Linked DNA regions of Homo sapiens: regions 1, 2, 3, 4, 5 and 7 are each linked to region 6. Evidence: promoter capture Hi-C in 16 types of primary human blood cells and fetal thymus (Javierre and others, 2016). All regions are on one chromosome and are shown on one strand. The core of a region is centred on a gene start or on the middle of the fragment in contact, and the rest is flanking DNA. Distances in the headings are between cores, read along the strand shown. Region 1 has its middle 140 kb from the start of VRK2. Region 2 has its middle 120 kb from the start of VRK2. Region 3 has its middle 180 kb from the start of VRK2. Region 4 has its middle 160 kb from the start of VRK2. Region 5 overlaps LOC105377628 (a long non-coding RNA gene). Region 6 holds the start of FANCL (FA complementation group L). Region 7 has its middle 230 kb from the start of VRK2.

What was found. Contacts are between HindIII fragments. The CHiCAGO score rates a contact against its expected background, and 5 or more counts as called.
Region 1: a contact is called between a fragment that was not itself captured here and the fragment with the promoter of FANCL in region 6, in 7 of 17 cell types (total B cells, M1 macrophages, M0 macrophages and 4 more). The highest score is 7.5, in total B cells.
Region 2: a fragment that was not itself captured here is called in contact with the fragment with the promoter of FANCL in region 6 in 1 of 17 cell types (activated CD4 T cells); the score reaches 5.8 in activated CD4 T cells.
Region 3: a fragment that was not itself captured here is called in contact with the fragment with the promoter of FANCL in region 6 in 3 of 17 cell types (monocytes, endothelial precursors and total B cells); the score reaches 5.9 in monocytes.
Region 4: a fragment that was not itself captured here is called in contact with the fragment with the promoter of FANCL in region 6 in 10 of 17 cell types (M2 macrophages, total B cells, M1 macrophages and 7 more); the score reaches 7.6 in M2 macrophages.
Region 5: a contact is called between a fragment that was not itself captured here and the fragment with the promoter of FANCL in region 6, in 1 of 17 cell types (erythroblasts). The highest score is 5.4, in erythroblasts.
Region 7: a fragment that was not itself captured here is called in contact with the fragment with the promoter of FANCL in region 6 in 2 of 17 cell types (erythroblasts and naive B cells); the score reaches 7.5 in erythroblasts.

The regions. Positions count from the first base shown.
Region 1 is chr2:57,904,878-57,908,290 of GRCh38, forward strand. It overlaps a transcript of VRK2 not described here. Among named protein-coding and RNA genes, the nearest start is that of VRK2, 140 kb to the right of the region's middle. The HindIII fragment of the contact is 2,268 bases long and covers 407-2,674 here.
Region 2 is chr2:57,924,705-57,927,921 of GRCh38, forward strand. It overlaps a transcript of VRK2 not described here. Among named protein-coding and RNA genes, the nearest start is that of VRK2, 120 kb to the right of the region's middle. The HindIII fragment of the contact is 5,212 bases long and covers 1-3,217 here.
Region 3 is chr2:57,868,968-57,872,053 of GRCh38, forward strand. No RefSeq gene overlaps it. Among named protein-coding and RNA genes, the nearest start is that of VRK2, 180 kb to the right of the region's middle. The HindIII fragment of the contact is 2,379 bases long and covers 514-2,892 here.
Region 4 is chr2:57,887,831-57,891,291 of GRCh38, forward strand. No RefSeq gene overlaps it. Among named protein-coding and RNA genes, the nearest start is that of VRK2, 160 kb to the right of the region's middle. RefSeq lists a silencer at 2,707-2,756. The HindIII fragment of the contact is 4,477 bases long and covers 1-3,461 here.
Region 5 is chr2:57,785,511-57,788,751 of GRCh38, forward strand. It overlaps LOC105377628 (a long non-coding RNA gene), which reads right to left. Exons shown (of 3, transcript XR_940110.3): 1 at 302-3,241. Among named protein-coding and RNA genes, the nearest start is that of VRK2, 260 kb to the right of the region's middle. The HindIII fragment of the contact is 4,814 bases long and covers 1-3,241 here.
Region 6 is chr2:58,239,429-58,242,734 of GRCh38, forward strand. It overlaps FANCL (FA complementation group L), which reads right to left and starts at 1,897. Exons shown (of 14, transcript NM_018062.4): 1 at 1,790-1,897. The coding sequence starts at 1,885. RefSeq lists a silencer at 1,495-1,544 and an enhancer at 2,085-2,244. The HindIII fragment of the contact is 7,787 bases long and covers 1-3,306 here.
Region 7 is chr2:57,813,906-57,817,171 of GRCh38, forward strand. No RefSeq gene overlaps it. Among named protein-coding and RNA genes, the nearest start is that of VRK2, 230 kb to the right of the region's middle. The HindIII fragment of the contact is 752 bases long and covers 1,637-2,388 here.

The sequences.
Region 1 (3,413 bases), core at 291-2,790, 330 kb before region 6:
TAGAAATTGGAGAGTTCATAAATAATCTACTCTGACTTCTGATTCCAAATCCACTTCCAAATTTTTGTTAGAGTTTTATGACATATTCTGTTAAAAAAAAAAAAAGACAAAAAGGTGTAAGAAACACTCATTACGTGGCTTAAAAATGAACATTGAAATCACTCTGCTGATTCTGTTTTCCACAGGCAGTCACAACAATACCTCCATCTCACATACCCTTCTTAAATGTGACTTGGACACTATTCCCATGAAGAAATGGTCTGTGTTTCCTACCTTAAAAATGGGCTGGCTTTGTGACTATTTTGACTAACAGTGTATGGCAGAAATGATGTTATTGACTTTTTGTGTCTAGGTCATTAATGACCAAGAAGCTTCTGCTTTGTTGGCTAAAATACTTGTTCCTGAAAGCTTGCAAGAAGTCTGACTGCATTGAGGCCACCATGCTGTAAGGCAGACTAAACCCACCCAAAAGAAGAAGCTGCATGGAGAGGCCATGAGGCTACACAAAGAGTGAGAGATGATGGCAGCCTCCAGCTGCTTCGACCTCCCATCCTCCAGCTCTAGCACTAGCTGTAGCAAACAACTGGCCACAACACTAGGAAAGACCACCCAGCTCAGACCATTCCCAAATTCCAACCCACAGGAATCCATGAGAAGTCATAAAACAACGGTTATGTTTATAACCCCAAAGATTTGGGAGATCATTTATAGATCATTCATTTATTAAGCAAATGTTTACTGAATGTCCAGTCTGTGCTGGGCAATATCCTAAGTACAAAATCCTGCAAGGATTTTTTTTTCTCAAAGGAGTTTAATCCCTCTATCCTCTCTGCTTCCATGGCTCTTTAGATTGGTAATATAGCATTTATTTATTTTGTCCATATTGGTAATACAGCATTTATTCTTTGGTCCATATTGGTAATACAGCATATTTTTCCATATTCTATAAGTTGTATACATGTTTGATTATACAATTCTAAATTCAGGATCTGATTCTGAATTAATTTTATTTGCCTCTATAGTGTTCCTAGTGTACGTAAGTGTTGATATATAGCACCTATCTGGATAAAAAAAATTGATGCAGGAAAATTAATACCATTAGCCCCCATGATACAAATTAAACTAATATTCTTGAGACATAATTTATTTAAAATAGCTGAAGTCTTCAACTGAAGGAAAGGAAATACTTTTTAAAAAACATTTGAATATGTGATTATTCCTTACAGCAGTCAAAAGAGAAAGAAATAAGTACTTCTCAAAGATTCTAGTAATTAGTAAACAAGCCACGAGGTACTTAAAATTACCTTAAACCAGTTTTATTTTGTCAAATAGTCTGTTACTACAGCTATAGATAATTTTGTTCTAAGTGTAGCTTAAAACTAAAATGTGCCCTGGATAAGATAAAAAGTAGTGTCTGGGCGTCCTCATTACAATCTTCCTTCCTACCACTAGTCTATGCTGTTGCACTAAGTACTGAATGCTTGTTCAGTGTCCATAGGAATGTGGGGAAGATCACTTTTGTCTAAGATTTGTTACTCAGATGGGAAAAAGTCAAATGCCTTATTTTTTCCCCAAAATAGAAGCAGGCAATTTATAAACAATTCTGTTCACGAAAAAATGTATTCTGAATTCATAAATTTAAGTTATATGTTTTAACTATGTCAATTAGAAAAGGAAAATATTATGGGGGTGGGGCCTCCCTTTCTAATTTTGAAAAGAAGGAATCTAATCGTCATAGTTAAGCACTCTTACTTACAATGTTGAGTTTTTGTTAATTTCTCCTGGTCCTCTGCCTCACTTTGATCTGCATTTAATGAGTTACAAATCCTGTGAATTTTACCTCAGCGCTGTTTTTTCCACCTAGCCCATTTTCTCCCCTTTGTATTAACACAGTTTAAAACCTCAATGTCTATAAACTGCACAGTGCAGGCAAACATGTATTGAGGTCTTATCTGTGTGATGTCTTATGCTAAGGGCTTCACATATGTACACTGTTTAAATCTTACACAAATATGATGAAATAAATTCTAAAAGTTTTCCTGTTTTACAGATGAGAAAAGCCATGGAGGACTTTTTTTATTATTATTTTTATTTTTTTGAGACAGAGTCTTGCTGTGTCACCCAGGCTGGAGTGCAGTGGCGCGATCTCGGCTCACTGCAACCTCCACCTCCCAGGTTCAAGCGATTATCCTGCCTCAGCCTCCCAAGTAGCTGGGACTACAGGTGCCCACCACCACGTGCGGCTAATTTTTTTTTGTATTTTTAGTAGAGACGGGATTTCACTATGTTGACCAGGCTGGTCTTGAACTCCTGACCTCGTGATCCTCCCGCCTCTGCCTCCCAAAGTGCTGGGATTATAGGCGTGAGCCACTGCACCCAGCTGAGGACTTTTAGAACTAAGTAATTCACCCAAGGTGATAGTCAGTAGTGGTGGAACCAGCATGCAAATTAGACAATGTGACTTCATAGCCTAGTATTCTACTCTACTTCTGTAACTTATGGCTGGAAGGGACTTTAAAATTCCATCTACTCCATGTTTAATGCTTCATTCTCCCTTAACATTTGCAAAGTTGTCACTAGCCTATGTTGGAACATCTCCAATGACTGTCACAATAGTCTTCTATCTCTCAACTCCAACTCACCCTATGCTCTGCCAGATTCATTGTTTTCAAAAAGCTTTTTGTCATAATCTCCCTCAGCTCAAATAAACAACTAGCATTTCCAAACAGAGCAACTACAACCACTTCAAACATCCTAAACTCCCTCCAACCCTGGCTATTCACACGCTTCAGTTCACAACTTCCATCCAGAATCCTACTTCTCTGATTGTCCTCATGGGGAAAGTATGCTATTTCCTTCATCCTACAAGATGCTTCTCACTGACTCTATCCATATTCTTCTCATCCTTCAAGAGCCAAGTCAAATCTCTCTGCTTCCAATAAGCCTTCCTTGCTACACTCAGGTAAATGTAATCTCTCCATCTCCTGGCGAATGTCTCGATTTCTTTTTCTGTGCTATGCCTGGTGTGACAGGGAGTCAGGGCCAAAGATGATCTAACAAAGTCAGAACATGATAATCCAAGTACAGAAGATCATTTCATCAATACAGGCTCTAAGAAACAGTCTAGCAGTGGGTGACTGCTAGACTGTTTATGAGAATATGAGAATGAAGGCCAAAAGGATTCACAAGAGGGGATCAAGAGATTTTCAAGGAACTTCTGGAAGGCAAATCTAAGGAAGAATCCAAAATCAGAAACCAAAAAGCATAGTCAGGAGTTAAAGAACTTAGAGGAGCAGAGCACAAAGTTGTACATCGTATGTGGTTTTATCTTGGGTTGATTCTTCTAGTTTTCATTAGGATGACCACACATCACGTATGATTTAAAGATGTTGCTTTGCCTCTTACAATTTGCA
Region 2 (3,217 bases), core at 370-2,869, 320 kb before region 6:
TGTCTGATTGCTCCAGCTAGCCTTTCCAGTAATACGTTGAATAACAGTGGTGCCAGTGACCATCCTTGTCATGTTCCAAATCTTACAGGAAAGGCTTTTAGTTTTTCCCCAATCTATGTGATACTAACTGTGGGTCTGTCATATATGGCCTTTATTATGTTAAGGTATGTTGCTTCCACCTCCAGTTTTTTTAGGGTTTTTTTTTAATCATGAAGGGATGTTGAATATTATCAAATGCATTTTCAGCATCGATTGAAATGATCATATAGATTTTTGTTCTTCATTCTGTTGATATGATGTATCACATTCATTGATTTGCCTATGTTGCTCCATCTTTGCATCCCTGGGATCAATTCCACTTGGTGATGATTAGTGATCTTTTTAATGTGTTGTTGAATTTGTTTTAGTATTTTGTTGAGGATTTTTCCATCCATATTCATCAGAAATATTGGCTGGAAGTTTTCTTTTTTTGATATATCTTTGTCTGGTTTTGGTATCTGGGTAATACTGGCCTTGTAGATGTGTTTGAAAGTATTCCCTCCTGCTCTATTTTTTCAAAATAGTTTGAGTAATATTGATATTAGTTCTTCAAATGTTTGGTAAAATTTGGCAGTGCTGCCATTGGGTTGTAGGCTTTTCTTTGCACATTTTATTATGGCTTCAATTTAATTACTTGTTCTTGGTCTGTTCAGGTTTTGGATTTCCTTATGATTCAATCTTGGTAGATTGTATGTGTCTAGGCATTTATCCATTTCTTCTGGATTTTCCAATTTATTGGCATATAGTTGCTTATAGTAGCTTCTAATGATCCTGCAAATTTCTGTGGTATTTGTTGAAATTTTTTCTTTTTCATTTCTGCTTTTATTTATTTGGGTCTTCTCTCTTTTTTTAATAGTCTGGCTCAAGGTTTGTCTACTTTATCTTTTTAACAAATCAACTTTTCATTTTGTTGATCTTTTGAATTTTTTTCATTTCAGTTTCATTTATTTCTGCTCTGATTTATTATTTTTCATTTCAGTTTTATTTATTTTTCTCTAATCTTTATTATTTCTTTTCTTCTAATTTTCAATTTGGTTTGCTGTCTTGATTTTCTAGTTTTTTAAGATGTATTGTTAGGTTGTTCATTTGAGGTTTTTGGCTTTCTTGATATAGATGTGTATAGCTATAAACTTTCCTCTTAGCGCTGCTTTCACTATATCCCATAAATTTTGGTATGTTCTGTTTCCATTATCATTTGTTTGAAAAAAATGTTTTAATTTCCTTCTTAATTTTTTCATTGACCCACTGGTCATTCAGGAGCATACTGTTTAATTTCCATGTGTTTTTATAGTTAATACAATTTCTCTTGATACTGATTTTTAGTTTTATTCCATTGTGGCTAGAGAAAATACCTGATATAATTTCTTTTTTTTATTTTTTAAGACTTTTTTGTGAGCTAAAATATAGGGTATCTTTGAGAATAATCCATGTGCTGAGGAAAAAATGTATATCCTGCAGCCATTGAATAAATTGTTCTGTATATATCTGCTAGGTCATCTTGTTCTATAGTGCAGATTAAGTCTAATGCTTTTTTGTTGATTTTCTGTCTGGATGATCTGTCCAATGCTGAAAGTTGGGTATTGAAGTCTCCAGCTACTACTGTATTGGGGTCTCTCTTTAGCCTTAATAATATTTGCTTTATATATTTGGGTCCTCCAGTGTCCTCCAGTGTCACATATATATATACATATATATATGTGTGTGTGTGTGTGTGTGTGTGTGTGTATAGTGTATATATATACAATTATATATATATATAGTGTGTGTATATATATAGTGTGTGTGTGTATATATATAGAGAGAGAGAATTGTTTTATCCTCTTGCTGAACTTACCCCTTTATCATGATATAATGACCTTATTGTTGGCCTCTTTTTACAGTTTTTGTCTTGAAATCTATTTTGTCTGATAAAGCAAAGCTACTCCTGCTCTGTTTTGGTTTCCACTGCATGGAATATCTTTTCCATCCCTTTTTTTAGTCTTTTTTTCATCTTTTTTTTTCAGTCTTTATAGATGAAGTGTATTTCTTGTAGGTCACAGATCACTGGGTCTTGTTTTTCTATCCATTCAGCCACTCTGTGTTTTTTGATTAGAGTGTTTAGTTTTTTTATATTCAATGTTCTTATTTATAAGTAAAGACTTAATCCTACCATTTTGTTATTTGTTTTCCAGTTGTTTTGTAGACTTCTTTCTTTCCTTTCTTCCTGTCTTCCTTTTAGTGAAGGTAGTTTTCTCTGGTAATATGTTTTAATTTCTTGTGTGTGTGTGTGTGTGTGTGTGTGTGTGTGTCTGTCGTATTTTTTTTAGGTTCCCAGGAGGCTTCTGAATAATATCTTATAACCCATTATTTTAAATGGATGACAACTAAAGATTAATTGCATAAACAAACAAGCAAAGAGAAAACTAATAAAACTCTACACTTAAACTTCTTATCCCCACTTTTGAACTTTTTGTTGTTTCTATTTATATTTTATTGTATTGCCTATGTCTTGAAAAGTTGTTGTAGCTATTATTTTTGATCTTTTCATATTTTAGTCTTTTTTTTTTTTTTTGAGATGAAGTCTCGCTCTATCGCCCAGGCTGGAGTCCAGTGGCGTGATCTCGACTCACTGCAACCTTTGCCTCTCGGGTTGAAGAGATTCTCCTGCCTCAGCCTCCTGAGTAGCTAGCATTACAGGTGCATGGCACCATCCTGGGTTAATTTTTGTATTTTTAGTAGAGACGGGGTGTCAGCATGTTGATCAGGTTGTTCTTGAACTCCTGACCTCATGATCCACCTGCCTCGGCCTCCCAAACTGATGGGCATATTTTAGTCTTTCTACTCAGGATATAAGTAGTTTATGAACCACAATTACAGTTATAATATTCTGTGTAACTATTGCCACTGAGTTTTACACCTTCAGATGATTTCTTACTGCTCATTAATGTCTTCATTTTTTCAGATTAAAAAACTCCCTTTAGCATTTTTTGTAGGACAGGTCTGGTGTTGATGAAATCCCTCAGCTTTTTTGGTCTGGGAACGTCTTTATTTCTTCTTTATATTTGAAGGATATTTTCACTGGATCTATAATTCTAGGATAAAAGTGGGGTTTTTTTCCTTCAGCACTTTAAATACATCATGCCAGTGTTTCCTGGCCTGTAAGTTTTCCACTAAAAGTCTGCTGCCAGATGTATTGAAG
Region 3 (3,086 bases), core at 453-2,952, 370 kb before region 6:
CAATATGTACACATTTCAAAATATCTTAGTGTACACAATACATACAATTCTTATTTGTCATTCAAAAAAATAAAATATAAATGAATGAATGAATGATCAGTAGAGGAAACCAAGAAGAAGAGACCAGAGAGAAAGAGGAATAATGAAAGGAAAGCTCCCTCAGGAAAGCCAACAGAGGTAGCACTTTCAAAAAGGAGAAAAAGTTCAACAATGTTAAATAGCTCAGAGAGGTCAGAGAGCCTGGGGAAGATTATTAAAGTTGTTTATTTGGTCATCAGCCACATTAGAAGCACAATTTCCAGAGAAGAGATTGTAGTTGGGCAGCAACTGGTTAATGATGAAATTAGCATTAATTAATATACTTGGTCTAAGATCATAAATTACAATTTCTCTGAAGAAAACAGGACTTCAGTTAAAGGCCTTATCCCACTGAAATTCTACTTAAATTGCTTACTCTGGTAGCAAAAAGAACCACAATGTGGGGGAATGTGAGACCACTCGGTTGCAGGTTTAAGCTTAATACCTAGAGTTGTCCATTTCCAAATGAGGACTATCCCCAGTAGCCATAGAGACTGATTCAAAAGCCAATTACTTCTGTGCGCCTCTATTCCCTACTTTGTCTGATTTGTGGTGAAGGCTAAGCACAGAGGGAAAACGCCAAATAAAATGTTCACTGTCTCCATAAAATATCCTCACATTACAAGAAGATAATCCTGCTTCTTTGAACTAGCTAAAAACTGACCTTCCCTCACTCAAAACTGCCTGTAAGAGTCCCAGGACAGGTTGTTCTGACATTCTTTTAACATCATCTCATCATCACAGCCAAAACTAATCACAAGAATATTACCCGTTGACAGGTGCATTTATTCTGTCAATTAAATCAGATGGTTAAATCGAAATGTGCCCCAAATCTCTCTTGTTTGCATTATCCATATTGGCGTTTCTTGGCCGTGGTTCATTGCTGGCTGGAAGTCGTCCAGCCCCCACAGAGTCACTTTGCAATATTGTGCCAGCAAGTTTCTATGCTCTGCAACAGCCGCTCCAGCGAGGCCCGAAAAGCACTACAGGACTGACCTGGAATGTTATATTGCTTCACTAAGATTTATTAAAAAATGGAAGGAGGGAGACTTAGATCAATGTTTTTGGAATAGAAGAGGATATATCACCTCATGGCTAAGCACAGGTGACACGTGGGCAATGAAGCGGAGATGCTAAAGACAGGCAGTGAAAAAGGCACACGGAAGATGAAACCAGCCATACGCCTCCAGCTTTCAGCCCCTTCTCTAAAACTCTCCTCCATCAACATGTCCAAAGAAAAGCAGTCTCTTAAAGGCTGACTCCTGTTTTTTAAGACCATTTCCTTAAGAAAATATGCAAATATAACCATAACAAGCAACGGAACCGATTCTACTGAACCACATTCCCATGTTTAGCTACCAGCAAGATCCCTAAACAGATACTGAGTTTACACGACATTTTGGCCACAAAAAGTATTCAAAAAGAGACATATTAAGGACAGGTCTCGGATTCTAGTACCTGATGGATGGTTGGAATGCCAGGATATTTTGGCTCGTATTTCAAAATCCCTTGCTTTTTTCAGCCAGTGTCACCACCTAAGCATAGCTATAAAGATGCCAGTTTTTTGTAAGGTGCATTTGAAAAGCAAATAGTTCACATTGGAGAGTATGAATAGACAACATAAAAATAAAATGGAGAGGTAATGAGTGAAAAAAAATCTAGGGCATGAACAAGAGTTGACATGTTAGACTAGAATGGTAGAGTCACTAGAGAATGTCATGTCTTCTAAAGATATGTTTGGACATAACTATAAATTTCATTCTCCGCATTATCTACCTGAAAGGACCTAACAGTCTCCTTGAAACATTTCAATTGTCAAATAAACATACATGTAGACTTACCTTTTTAAAGCTCAGTATTGCATTATATTGCCTAAATATCAGAAAATATTTGTAAACTATATTTAGCTTCTTTTTTGTCAATGTACATTATCTGCCCAAGGAGCTGAGATGATTTTCCACAATGTTTTGGCTAAAGACACAGTCAGTGACTTTTTTGGTCAAGGTTTTATCCTTTAAAACATGGCATGAAGTTTTAGCCACTCAAATCTCATTGACTCTAATGGTTCAGTCTTCAAATACCACTTAAAAAGTTTAAATTATGATTTATCTTTGAGGACAGTTACCATCAATCAGGTAAATACCTTTTCTGGCCAATTTGTAAGATAGGTATTCTACTCACTTGAAAGAAACGATTTTAGCCTATTTTGCATTTTATTTGAGCACTTCTAAAAAAAATCATATTCTATACCCAAGATAATTATTTGATCCCCAGTTTAGCTAATTAGCATTTAGGACATGGATTGTTCATAATACAAAAGACTGGTCAGGAAAAAAAATTAGCTACCACATGTGCACACTAACCAGTTTGGAGGATTTATTATCCAGGAGTTCTGAAATGTCACAGCTAGTTCAGCAAGACTGAGGAGTTGCCCTCTGCTGAGGAGGAGGAATGGAAGATAGATTTCAACAGGACCCAATGCAGAGCAAGGCTTAGTCCAAATTGTAGATAACTAACTTATCAAGGATGCAATCAGTAAACAAGTAGGACCTATATCCTAAACTTTGAAGTCTAGTATATAACTTTTTAATGCAAATGTGATAGTAAAACAACTCTGAGATGTTTCACTGGCCAGGCTTAAAGTCAGATCTGAGTACTCTAGGGGAAGAAAAAAATGGCTTCCCTTTATCTTGCAGGTTCTTTGGGTGGACAATGCATTATATTGACATAATACATATTAACAAGGAAAAAAAACATATTTAATTACATGAGTACACGAGAGTCCCACAAAAAAATATGACTCAAAGAAGATCAAGCTTGAAGCTTATATAGCATCCTGAGCTACAGAAAGGAATTAGGGCCTGAGGCTCCTGGTGGGGTGGTGGAGACAAGTTATGGGAGGGTGAGGGGAGAAAATGTATGGTAAATGAATGTCATCTTGTTATGCAGATAAAAAGTCTCTCAGGTAATAAAAGTGGTCTAGGAACAGCCCTTTTCCAAATACAGAT
Region 4 (3,461 bases), core at 768-3,267, 350 kb before region 6:
TAAGATAATATAGAATCTAATAATCTAATATAAAGAAAAACAAGTGCAAGAAAAACTGCTATCTTTTATTTTTTTCCTCTGAGGTATTACAAAGTGTTGGAATTTAGTAATCAGGGTTTATCTCTTATAACAAGATAGTTACTAGAATGTTATAGGTTACAGCTGGTTGCAATATTCCTTATTTTCTTATTATACCCCTTTCATAATGAGGTTTCAGCATACACTGTTAGTTAACATTTGGCAAGGTACAGCTTTAGAGGTTCCACACATAAGGCTATCAGCAAGGAGCAGGATGTGTCATATAAAATGGGAGTGAACATTTGAAGTTTGCTTGTGTTTCCTTAAAAAAAGAAAGCTAGAGAGAAAGCTCTAGATCAATCATTTTATCATTTGGCTTATTAATTGCTACTTTATTTAGACTGTCTCTGCAATTACTAGTAAAGGTTGTCTCTTCCTGCTCCTTTATCTCTCAATCATGTCTCTTCAGTTCTGCACCTTCGGATATAAAGCTCCCACAGCTCTACCTAGAAATATTTTGGCTAGCTCTGTCTCCCCTCCCCAGCTTCAGTACTTCTCTACAAAAGCCTGTGAAACTGATTTCATTAAGAATATTCTCAAGTATGTTGGCATTTTTTATTGCAGCACTTGTTCATTATCAATCTCAGAACTAGAGAAGTAGAATTGTTGAACCAAGAACCTGGACTCTGAATCTTCAGGGAGGCAATGTCTGACTGCGAAGAGCAGAGCAGCTGAAGGCTCCTTCCCCAGCTACAGACACCTCTAGACCTTGACTCCTTAGACAAGAGGCGCCAGTGGTTTCACAGATCTATGTGCTTAGTACAAAAGGAAGAAAAGGCCACCACCACCTCAATACGACTGCAGGAAGTCATGGTAGAGGTTCACATCCAAAGAGACCACATTAAACCAGGATTTAAGAAGTTAGAACTCAAAAGTCTTACTTTCAAGTCACAACTTTGATTTGGGAGGTCCACTTAAACCTCACATTAACTTTCTCTCTTTGTTTTATCTTGCTGGCTATGTATCCTTGGGCAAGTTCTTTTCTTGACCTCCCTCAACCCCAGGCTCCTCATTACATCTATAAAATGAGGATAACAGTACCCCATCAAATTTTGGTGAAGATTAAATGAGATAATAATGTGTATGTGGTTCATAGTATTCAAGTTTTTCTAAAAAAAAAATAGACTTTAGTGACTTTCTTCTTTTTTAAATTTTTTATTTTTAGTTATTATGAACACATAATAGTTGTATATATTCACAGCGTACATGGGATATTTTGATACAGGCATACAAAGTATCAAGGTAATTGGGGTATACAGACCTCAAGCATTTGCCATTTCTATGTGTTAGGAACATTCCAATTTCACCCTTTTAGTAATTTTAAATTATATAATTATTGTTAACTATAGTCACCGTATTGTGCTACTAAATATGAGATCTTATTCATTATATCTAACGTATTTTGTACCTATTAACCATCCCCACTGCATATGGGCTTCCCTGCTTTCTTCCCACCCTCTCGTAAGCACCAGTTCTATTCTCTATCTCCGTGAGTTCAATTTTTTTTTCTTTTTTTTTTAGCTCCCACATATGAATGAGAACACGTGATATTTGTCTTTATGTGTCTGGCTTATTTAACCTAACATAATGCCTTCCTGTTCCATCCATTCAACTCTTAATAAATGTAAGAAATATTACAAGAGTGTCTAATAACATAGTATATACGATGTGTGTTTGTGTGTGTATAATGAAACCAATCTAGTGGTATTTTTCAAAACTGCATACCTATGTGTATATCTTATCAGGGAATTGTGAGCATTTTTAAGCTATTGCTTGTAAGATCCTTTGGCACCTCTCTTTGGGCACAGTGCTTTGTGTATTACTCTTTGAATAGGAGAAATATATTTATTATACATAATCATCATCTCTTTTTTTCTACCAAAAAGATCATAATAGCTAGAATGCTGGATACAAATATAAAAATTGAATACTAGGTCCCTGTGATCATTGCAGTTGCATCTTTTCTGAATTTAAGAGCATATATGTTAAATCCTTCAATCTGAGAAATTTAAGAATGTATCTAATGAACTTTATAAATAGAAATCTAGGAGTATTCTAGATACTTTTTGCATACAATTTAAGCTCAGTAATACAACCTATTGATTATTTGCTTTGATTTTTATTTTACTATTTGACCAAAGCAAGCAGAAACCTATGACTTTTTAGACTTACCCTATTTTAGGCTACAAATATATTACCCACTTTTGGGCCGACATAGTCAATATGAAATCTGTCACAAGATAAAATGAAATCCTCTGTATTTTGTGGTGGAGACATCATGGATTAGACTTAGGGTCAGAGGACCTGGGCTGTCATCGTGGCTTAGTTCTGAGCATACTATGTGACCTCTTGTGAACCACTTCACTTTGCTGAATGTCACCTTTCTTTTGTATGAAATAAGTTAGACTAGATCAGGGCTTCTCAATTCTTTCATGTGCATACTAATCACCAGGAGATTTTGATAAAATGAAGATTCTGATTAGTGGGTCCAGGGTGGGGCCTGGGATTGTGCATTTCTAACACGCTCCCAGGTGATGCTGATGCTACCAGTCCACAGGCTGCACTTTGAGTAGCAAAGGACTGCATATGTTCTTGGACAACTACAGTATTATTTTGGGTTTCTATAAGGTTATCCATGAGAAAGCATGTCATAATGGCCCCAAACAGGGATCAGGCACAGATAATCACTAACAGAGTGTCTAATACTTTACAGTTAGCAAAGTGCTTTCACATCCATTGAGTCATCCTAGCATTTCTGAGAGGAACCTAAACTCAAAAATGTTGAATCACTGGCTCAAGATCACACAGTCACATGGTCAATATGTGGCAAAGCCCAGGGTCAGATGTGATCTTCATCTCAGTTAGCTGTGCTCACACACAACCATGATTTCCACTGTCACCTTTGTGCTCAACAGGCCCCCAAATGCATCAAAGCCAGAGAAGACCTTACAGCCTAATTTCATTTTATACACAGCCATATAATTATTTATTTATTTAAAGTGATCTAAATATTGATCAAATCTAATGTTTACCTGTTAGAGCTGATTTAAGACTTCTATTTTCTTTCACATCTTTCAATTATTTTTCTGCTGCATCCTATTAATCAAGTACAGAAAAGCCTCTCAGACCAGCATGTGCATTTCCAGTTTCAATTGCTACAGTACATGAGTTCTAGATCTTAAAGGCCAAAAAGCATCTATTTGACTAAAGAGCTATAAGGCAGCCATAAAAATTATGGATCACAGAAATAAGCAATTAGTGTTATCTTCAATTGCTTTATTGGCAGTATTCACTCGTTAGAATAGAGGCAGCCGTAAAACAGATTGCAACATACTGTATAACAGCATATGGGATTTTACATTATAATGCTATTCTCTGCCAAG
Region 5 (3,241 bases), core at 693-3,192, 450 kb before region 6:
TTTCAAAATAGTTCAACATTTTATATCAAATATATATACGTGTGTGTGTGTGTGTGTGTGTGTGCGTGTGTGCACCTAAACTGGGCAGAAATGAGATCAGCTTTTTTTGTTGAAGCCTGAACTGGCAGTTAAACACTACCCCAAATCGTGTTTTCTGCTTCTCTCCAAATGGAACTCCTGGCAATGCCTATGGCAGAAGATGAAACACAAAGATGAGAGGCACTATCCTTGTTTCTCTAGACTCAGATACCTACACAGCTATCATATACACCATTAACGTCAAATTATTAAAGGATCCTACCTTTCATAATAAAAGAGGAAAAATATATTTTCCTTCTACCCTTCTAGGTTCTCAGCTTGGGTCTTTCTGTAACCAAAGAAACATTAACATGAGAAAAGCATTTGCTTTACTTGATACTTACAAGATGTTTAATGTTTTTACTGTATTGCAATTTTACTATTTCATGTGTTTTACCTATTACTTTATTTATGGAGAAGTAAAAGTGTCAATACAAGAGTTTTCCACACTTTCTACTCAAGGAGGAGTCTATGAACCAGCACAGTGCTTTTTATCTGGAGACTTAATAGGAATGCAGAATCTCAGGTCCAGTCAAAACCCACAAATTCAAAATCTGTATTTTTTATTAAGAAGATCCAAGTGATTAAAACACACTGTCCTTGGTGATAGAGCATTGATACTCACTGTCTTTCCAATGCAAACACACATGCGACTAATAATACACTCAATGCCAGTAGAATAGAGTGGGAAGTGTTATGTGGTTTAGAAAAAGCCAAGCCAGGCATCCTGATATACCTTCTCACAAACGTATTGATTACTTTTCCTTTTCAATTCCTTCAAAACAAGGATCACCTTTCAATCCATAGCAGTTATCATGTTTTAAATTTACTAATTTAGTGAATGCTTGGGATTCACTCACCAGTGATTTTCTCACCAGATCAATAAACCTGTTCCTCTAAAATCAAAGCAGTATCTTCTAGAATAATTTGACCTTCTAAGATATGAATGTTGAGTAATAAAATTTCCTCACAAAACAAAACTCAAGTGAGTTACTAAAGTAGTATATTGTTACTTAGTCAAATCCAGAATAACTCGGTCACTATATATAAAAACATTAACATTAAAAATAATTATGCTAACCTAAGATCTTAATACAATTCAGTCCTTCCAGTGAGCCCAACTTGAATACTAAGAAGGAAGTCACTAGGAAGCTATATTCACAATATAATCTTCTAAAAGAATTCATTTTAATTAAAAACCAGGTGGTCCTGAGTTTTCCTCTAAGGCTCTATGTTAAAAAATCCCATTGATCATACATTCTATAATGAAAGATCCAACTATAAACCTGGAGGAAAATGGAATAGATGAATCAAAATATTCTCCTTCTAGTTAATATAATCTTGGTTTCCAGTAGGGGTTTATAATTATAACACTGAAAGTAGAAACCATGAAGCACAAAGCTGGTAAGTTTGTTAATTAAAGATTTTAAAAAATTTCTCTCTATAAAAAAATCTACATAATTCAAAGGCATATTTACCTAAATATAAATGTAACCTTTATAAATAATGAAAAGATTAATATATCAAAGGAAAAATTGGGAGAAGTGATATGATTAGGAATTTCACCAAAAAATGACCAAAAACCACAAAATAATGTTTGTCACTTTAATAATCAAAAAAAGCGAAGTAAAAAAGTAAGATATTGCCAATCATTTTTACTGACATAAAATTCTAACTATACTAGCCAGTGTTTACAAGAATTTGCGAGTGCTTACTCTGATGTATTACTGGTAGAAAGGTGAATAATTTAGCAATATGCAGCAAAAGTCTGAAACATTTGCACACTTTTTAAACAGCAAAACCAACCTTTCCAAATTTACCTTTAGAAATAATCTGATCAGTGTGATGATGTTCAATATGTAACTGTTAAAAAAGTGTAAGCAACATAAGTGCCCAGTAAGACAGCTCATTTGAATAAGCTACGGTACATCCATGCAGTGTAACAAGATGCAAAGATTTGAACGTAATGAACGTACAATGATATGAGAAGTTCAAAATACGTTAAACGGAAAAAACAAAAAAAAGTATACATTATGATCTCTTTTCAAAAAAAATGTGTAAATGGATGGATAGCTAAATGGATGAAGAGTGACATACAAAGTAAGTACATAGATGGACAGATCAAGCAATAGGTACAGATAGGATAGATAACACAGACTGGAAGGATATTCAACAAAATCTCAACAACTTCATTTAAATCATTGGTGTGTTTATGGGTACATATCTAATTCCTAGTTAAATTGAACTTTTTAATATGTTAAAAATTATCTTGTAACTTTTCTAATCTGTACTTGGTCCACTTTTCTATTAGGATTTTAGCATTCTAGGTGTCAACTTATATGAATTCTTTGACCATGAAGATGCAATGTCTCTGAAATAGTTGCTGCTAATAGTTTTTCTAGGTTATTTTCTCCAAGGATGTTTTTTCCATTCAAAAATTATTACATTTTTATGTAGTCAAACCTATGGTTTTCCCTTTTTAATTTTTTTATTTTTAATTTATGTGGGTATAGTTATATATATTTATAAGGTATATGAGATGTTTTGATATAAGCATGCAATGTGAAATAAGCACACCATGAAGAATGGAATATCCATCCCATCAAGCATTTATCCATTAAGTTACAAACAATCCAATTACACTCTTTAAGTTATTTTAAAATGTTCAGTTATTATTGACTACAGTTATCCTGTTGTGCTAGCAAATAGTAGGTCTTATTTATCCTATTTCTTTTTGTATCCATTAACCACCCCCACCTCTCCACTAATTCCCCACTACCCTTCACAGCCTCTGGTAAACATCCTTATATTCTCTATGTACACGAATTCAAATATTTTTGATTCTTAGATCCCACCAATAAGTTAAAATATGTGATGTTTGTCTTTCTGTGCCTGTCTTATTTCACTTAACATAATGACCTTCAGTTCCACCCATGTTGTGGTAAATGACTGAATCTCATTCTTTTTTATGTCTAAATAGTACTCCATTGTGTATAAGTACCACATTTACTTTATCCTTTCATCTGTTGATGGACACTTAGGTTGCTCCCAAATCTTAGCTATTGTAAACAATGCTGCAACAAACATAGGAGTGCAGATACCTCTTCAATATACAGATTGCTTTTCTTTGAGATATATATGCAGCAGGAGAATTGCTAGATGG
Region 6 (3,306 bases), core at 647-3,146:
AATCTGTACTCTTTAAAAATGTCTAGCTTATAAAAAACACAAACAGACTGAGAATTGTTCCAGGTTAGACATGACAACTAAATGTAATGTGGGATCTTAACAACAGATGGTAGGGGATGGGGGTATAAAACATACAACTGTATCATAAACAAAATTTGAAATATGGACTCTATCTTAGATAATAGTATATCATTAAATATCCTGATTTTAATCACTGTACTGTGGTTATGTATGAGTGTGTCCTCGTTCTTATGAAATGTATGCTCAAGTATTTAGGGATAAAGGGGAACTACGCCTGATTTGACCTCAAATGGTTCAGGAAAATAATGTGTATACACACCCACCCACATACATATACTTAACAATGATCAGTAAAATGGAGAAAATGTAAACTGGTGAATCTAGGTAAAGGGTATACTGGAATTACTTGTACTGTATATCCTTGCTACTTTTCTGTAAATTTAAAATATATACAAAATATTTTTAGACACGTAAAATGTTTAAGATTTAAATAAACTGCTAAGGCAGGTACAAATTGGAATTCTAGCTATAGCAATGGTCATAAAAGAAACTTTCATCTAATCTCAATTCTAATGGGTGTACTTGTTTCCTAAAAGGCCTTAGCAGATATAGACATACATAACAGTATTTTGCCTAAAATTAGGTATAACATGCTTCCTGTAAAAAAAAAAAAAAAAAAGTAACTTAAAATTTTTCAACTTTTCTAAATGTTGTCTACAAGAGAATCATATTTTCAGCTAGGTAATTCAAGAAGAATACTTCTAATTGGAGAGGGAAAGGTGGATTAACTTTTTTCCATATGGAATAATGAATTTTTAACCTCTACTTTCTGTGATGGTCATATGGTAATTCCACATATACTCAAAGACTATGCGTGATGGTGGGGAAGTGGGCACAAGGTTGAGTGTAATGGTCAGAAAGGAAAAGTCTACACTCCTAACCTAAGGTATCCTGGTGCAATGTAAAGAGAAAAAAATCCAGGACTGAAATCACACAGCCTGCGTTTAAGGGATTCTGATGTGATCATCAGCAAATAACGTCTCCGGTTTCCCATACCTTGATTTCTTCAACTAGAAAATGGGAATGATGATTCTTTTAAAAATTTCTGCCTCAAAGGGCTGAGGATTAAGTGAACTATTTACCTGGAAAGCGCTTTGTAAACTTCAAAACCCTACACATGTGTTAGTATGTGTAATAAACTCCATATGAGAGGCCACTGGAATCAGCAAAGTTAATTAATTCCATTGCTGTCATGCTTCTCCTAGAAGATATTGTAACTGTGGGTGTACAGGTACATACGACTTGGCAAAGGGCCAAAATAAGGTTTTCTTCCCAAATGTTCTTTCTACAGGAAACACGAAAATAATTAGCCCAGATTCCCGAGTGAACTCATCAACATCCGTGGAGGTGGAGGGTGTTAAAATCGAGTTAAGGCAAAATTTACAAAAAAAAAATTAAAAAACAGTCAATTGCGGGACACTGAACGAAGAAGGAAGCCAAACTCGGGGAAGGGCTAGGGAGAGAGGAGGCGTGGCCCCAGCCCCGCTCCACGCCGCGCGCCTCCTCGCTCCCCATCCAGCGCGGCGACCACCGGGGTGGCGGCGACAGCGGCGCTTCTCAAACCTTTAGTCTCCCAAGAGCCGTTACGCGCCGCCCCTCTCAATCCCCACAAGTCTGGGCCCCTAACCTCCTAGCCCGTCACAGACTTCTCCGCGCAGCTACGCTGCAAGAGGCTCTCTTAGCTAGAAAGCAACCACTGGGCGGGTACCTGAGCCGAGATGAATCCCTCATACACGGTTTTCGACCGGTTCTGGGGCAGAAGCAGGGGGCACTGGCGCAACAGGCTCGCTTCCGTCACCGCCATGGCTCGAAGTCCGGAGAAACACAGAAAAGCTCTAGACCTGCTGGGTCCTGCACATGCGCAGTCCGCTGGCGCTCGGACGCCGCGGAGCGGAAACCCCAGCCTTGGCGGGAAGATCCTGGAGGATTCCGCGGGCGGAAATGAAGGTGAAGCGCAGGCCAGGCCAAGTGGCGCTCTGCGGGAGGCGACATCAGGGCTCCCCAACCGGTAGTGGGAGGGAAGATTGCCCTCAAGTCCACAGGACTGACTGACCAAGATCATTCTAGCCTCAATTGTCCCAGGAGCCCTTTCGATGATTCTGTTTTACTTTATTGAAAGACTGTTACAACTTTGGTGTTGCATTTCCTCCAGAATAAAATGACTTTTACAGCCTGGACGTTGTAGCACTCTGTCTTCTTTGCTGTTGTCCTCTCTCCCTTAACATACAGAATAATGTATTATTTTGTGTATAATTATTGTAATATAATGTATAACACATTGATTATATCATATATATTACAGTTCTGTGGCTTACTAAGTTCAATCAGATATATTTGAGGCACACACATGTATACGTATATGTGTATTGATTAGACTCAAGTCAACACTGGACTCAGTTCTGTGTACGGCACTCACAAATATATAAAGCAAAACATGAGTAAAGATTGCTGATGGACTTGAACTTAATTTTCCTCTGACAGCGCTTGCAATATGTTTTTCTAACTCAGGAATGTTATCCATCCCATCTTATTAAGAGTTGATTAAATAAGAAACCTACTAAAATATTTACCATATGATTATTTGATTTTCCAATTTTCCAATTTTCCAATGCATCACGTTTGAGCCCTACTATTTGAAAAACATCATTGTAATGTGCCAAAGGTTGAGCAAAGATTATTTCGTCCCCTACCCATCTTTATTGACCTCAAGACAGAATTTGACATCCTGAAGATTCTTAAAGTTTGACAAGAATTTGTCACAGCATTCTGGATGCTTACAGAAAAGAATGCTGGAGCAGTGGTTAGATATAAATTACATTAAAGCAGTGGTTCTCAAAACGTGATCCTAGAACCTAGCAACAGCATCACCTGGGAACTATGTAGAAATACAAGTTTTCACCGCTGATGGGGTTCAGGATATGCTACCCCAAAATATGGCCCCTTGACATTTGAGAAAACAACAAAACCTAAGATCACTCTCTGACCTTCTCCCATCCTTCTTCCCTGAGGCGGGTCATTGGATCCTCAATCCAGAGGTGCTCTTCCTATACCCACAGGAAAGAAATATCCTTATCTCTAAAGAAACGGAGACATAGAAAAGAATCTGAACAAAAAGACCTTTGACAACTTACCCCAGTTTATTACCATTAGACCATGCTTTGTCCAACCGTACTTCCCCACAACTGTCCACTGTTCCTTCTAAAAATGCACAGGTTTTCCTGTTTC
Region 7 (3,266 bases), core at 763-3,262, 430 kb before region 6:
CAAGTACACAAGTTTGGTGGCTTCATGGTCAATATTTTTTAAAGCATCAATTACATACCTATGTAAAAGCAACAAAAATTAGAAAAACTAAGTTTTTAAAAAAATATGTGCAGTAGTAAAAAAATCTTTAAATATCCAGAATTAAAATAATAAAAGCTTTGCAAATCTTCTGCATTGCCAAATAACAAATGTTATGAAGGAAAATTGGAGTGTACAAATATATGGAAGGATATAACATATTCATTGATTGTATTCAACATTTTAAAAAGTTGGTTCTCAAATATATAGATTCAATAATCCAACCAGCTACCCAGCAGCATTTTTATGAAAATAAGACAATTCTAAGATGTATATTGAAAAACAAAGAATAAACAAAGTGAGAGGACTTTGCTAGACATTTATTACTGTAAGTACAAAATAATTAATATTGTGGCATTGGTGCAAGACAGAATAGTCCAGTGAAACAGTTTAGAGGGTCCAGAAACAATCAATATGTGGATTCTTGATTTATGAGAAGAGTGTTACTGCAGATCAGCAGGCAGAAGCTGGTCTTTTCAAAATGTTATATTGGGTCAAATCGATATCTACAGGGAACCAAAGTAGATGACCTTTTGTTTCCATTAGTGGGAGAGTAAATATTTTGAAGTAACCATATGAAATACAATATAATGAGTTACAATGAGTTAAAATACTTTCAATCTTCTTAAAAGTTTTACATAGCTAACAGAAGAATAAGGAACTACCAAGCTGGGTTTAAAAACTATCACCTGTCCAGAGAGAATAGCTTTTAGCCATAAAGCCATTTGTCTACTTGAAAAAAGTGGTGAGAGGTAAAACTAAGTAAGATTTCGTTTGTCTTAGAAGTTAAGAGTCCTGAATGCAACTAAGGTGGAAACCCAGCTACACCAATCCTATTTTGGGTTGAGATTGTGAAGAGCTGCATATTTTGAGTAAAGTGAACCAGAAGTAAACTGGTTCTCACAGAAACTGCAGCCTAACTTTAGTCTTCTGATTGGCCCAGGAATTTTCAAACATTGAATATGGATAAAGAAAATCAGAGATTGCTATCTTTCCCTAGGTGCCAGGCAAAAGGAAACAAAAGTTCTAGATAAACGAAAATAGCATTATCCTAAGCCTTAAAATATTTTTTAAAATAATGTTTTAAGTACACATCCAATATACCAAGTATAAAAGAGGTAAGACTAGACGAAAAAACCTACAGAAAAAATAAAATGGGCAATATTTACAGACCTACAGAAAATCCAGGTTCTGTGATTATTAGACACTATAAAAATTAACACTGTAGAACAACTCATTTTGTTAGAGACAAAAGCTACATTTGAAAAATTCAGAAATGAAGTGGTAAATATATTACATAATATCAGATCTGATAAAGAGTCAAGTAAAAATTCTAGAAAAGAAAATTACAAAGACAAAAATTAAGGACAAAATTAAGAACTTAATAGACTTAGGAACTAAAGAAATTAGAAATGAAATAAAAATCAGAAGAAACTACCCATAATGAAGCAGTGAAAGACAAGGAAAAAGAAAACATAATAGAAAGCAAATATTTAGAGGATCCCTGGAAAGGTACAATACATGTGTACATACATACCTAATTAGAGATTCAAAAGGAAGCTTCTTTAAAGTCAGACAGTAAGACTAACAAAAGTTTTCTTAATACTAAAATTGGAAGCTAAAAGAGAATAATATCATATATTTAAAATACTGATATAAAACAATTGTCAACCTAGAATTTAAAGAACACAATTAATAAATTTGACTTATTGGACATACATAGAATTAGAGACTACACATTCTTTTTGAGGACACAAGACTTACAAAAATTGACCATATACTCATATGTACTGACAAATCAGAAAAATTTCAAATGTTTAATATCGTAGAGCATTTTTTCTCTAAATCAACTGTAATTGCACTAGGAATCAACAACAAAGTAGAATATTACATGTATTTCTAAATTAAGAAATATTTACATCTAAAGTACTTATGAGAAGATAGATAATATTTTCTACTGACTATTAAAAAATACTACCTAGAAAAATCTGAGTGATATAGCTAAAGCAAAACCAAGAAGAATATTTATATTTCTGGATGTGCATATTAGTAAAATTAAAAAGCTAAAATTAAGATTATCATCCATCCCAAGAAGAGAAGAAGAAACAAAACAGAGCTGAAGGAAGAAAATAGTAAAGATAATAGCAAATAGTGAGAAGATTAACAAATGCAAACTTCTTTATTTGAATAAGAAATTGATAGTCTTCTGTTATAAATGATCAGGAAAAAGAGAATGTATAATAAAGTAATATTAAGGGGGAATGAAAAGATGAATCTTACCAAAGACCCAAAGGACATTTGAAACAAATAAGCTTTTGCCACAGACAATTATAAAATTAAAAACCAACCAACAAACAAACATGTTTTGAGGCACTGGCAGCAAAGATCACATGACTGCAATCCTTGAGAGAAGGGAAGTGCCAAATTAAGCCTCACATTTACCCTTGTTTTCTTCCTGGGCATATTTTCTAATCTGCTGTAAATGGAAGAATTACAAGTCCACGAGGCAGAGGAAACAGAGCTGTTAAGGAGACTGAAGTTTGGAAATCAGGAAATTAGAGAGAAGAAAGCATCAATCCAGGAGCAAAAAATATTGATGTAGTGGTATCATTAAAGCCTTTGGCTAACTATTAACCTGAACACACATAGGACAAGATTTCAGGAATTCTAGCAGAAATTGTTACTGAGGGGCTTAGATTGAAACAGAAATTTCATATATTGCACAAAATGGGATCGATGTTGGAGATCAACCCCAGCCAAAGAAAAATATCTTTGGTGAATACCCAGGAATTTTTTTTGAGATCCTAGAAACACCATGCCCTAGGAGTAAGGCCTATACCACAGAATTAAGGGCAATATCAAAATAGACACACCCTATTAAAGCCTAAAACCAACCCTCCACATGATAATCTAGATTATCCACCTGAAATGCAATTATTGCCCAGAACAAAACTGAACCCTCATCAGTGGGTGATAAAATCCTTGAGATTCTATACAAAATATCATTCACAATATCAAAAATACAATTAAAAATTGCTACACATGCAAGGAAACAGGAGTAAATGATTGATAATCAAAAATAAATTATGTGCTTATCCAGAGATGCTTCAGTTATTGAAGTTAGCAGACAAGGTCTTGAAAGTAATTATCACTAATATGACAGTAAATTGAGGAAAAGATAGATAAAT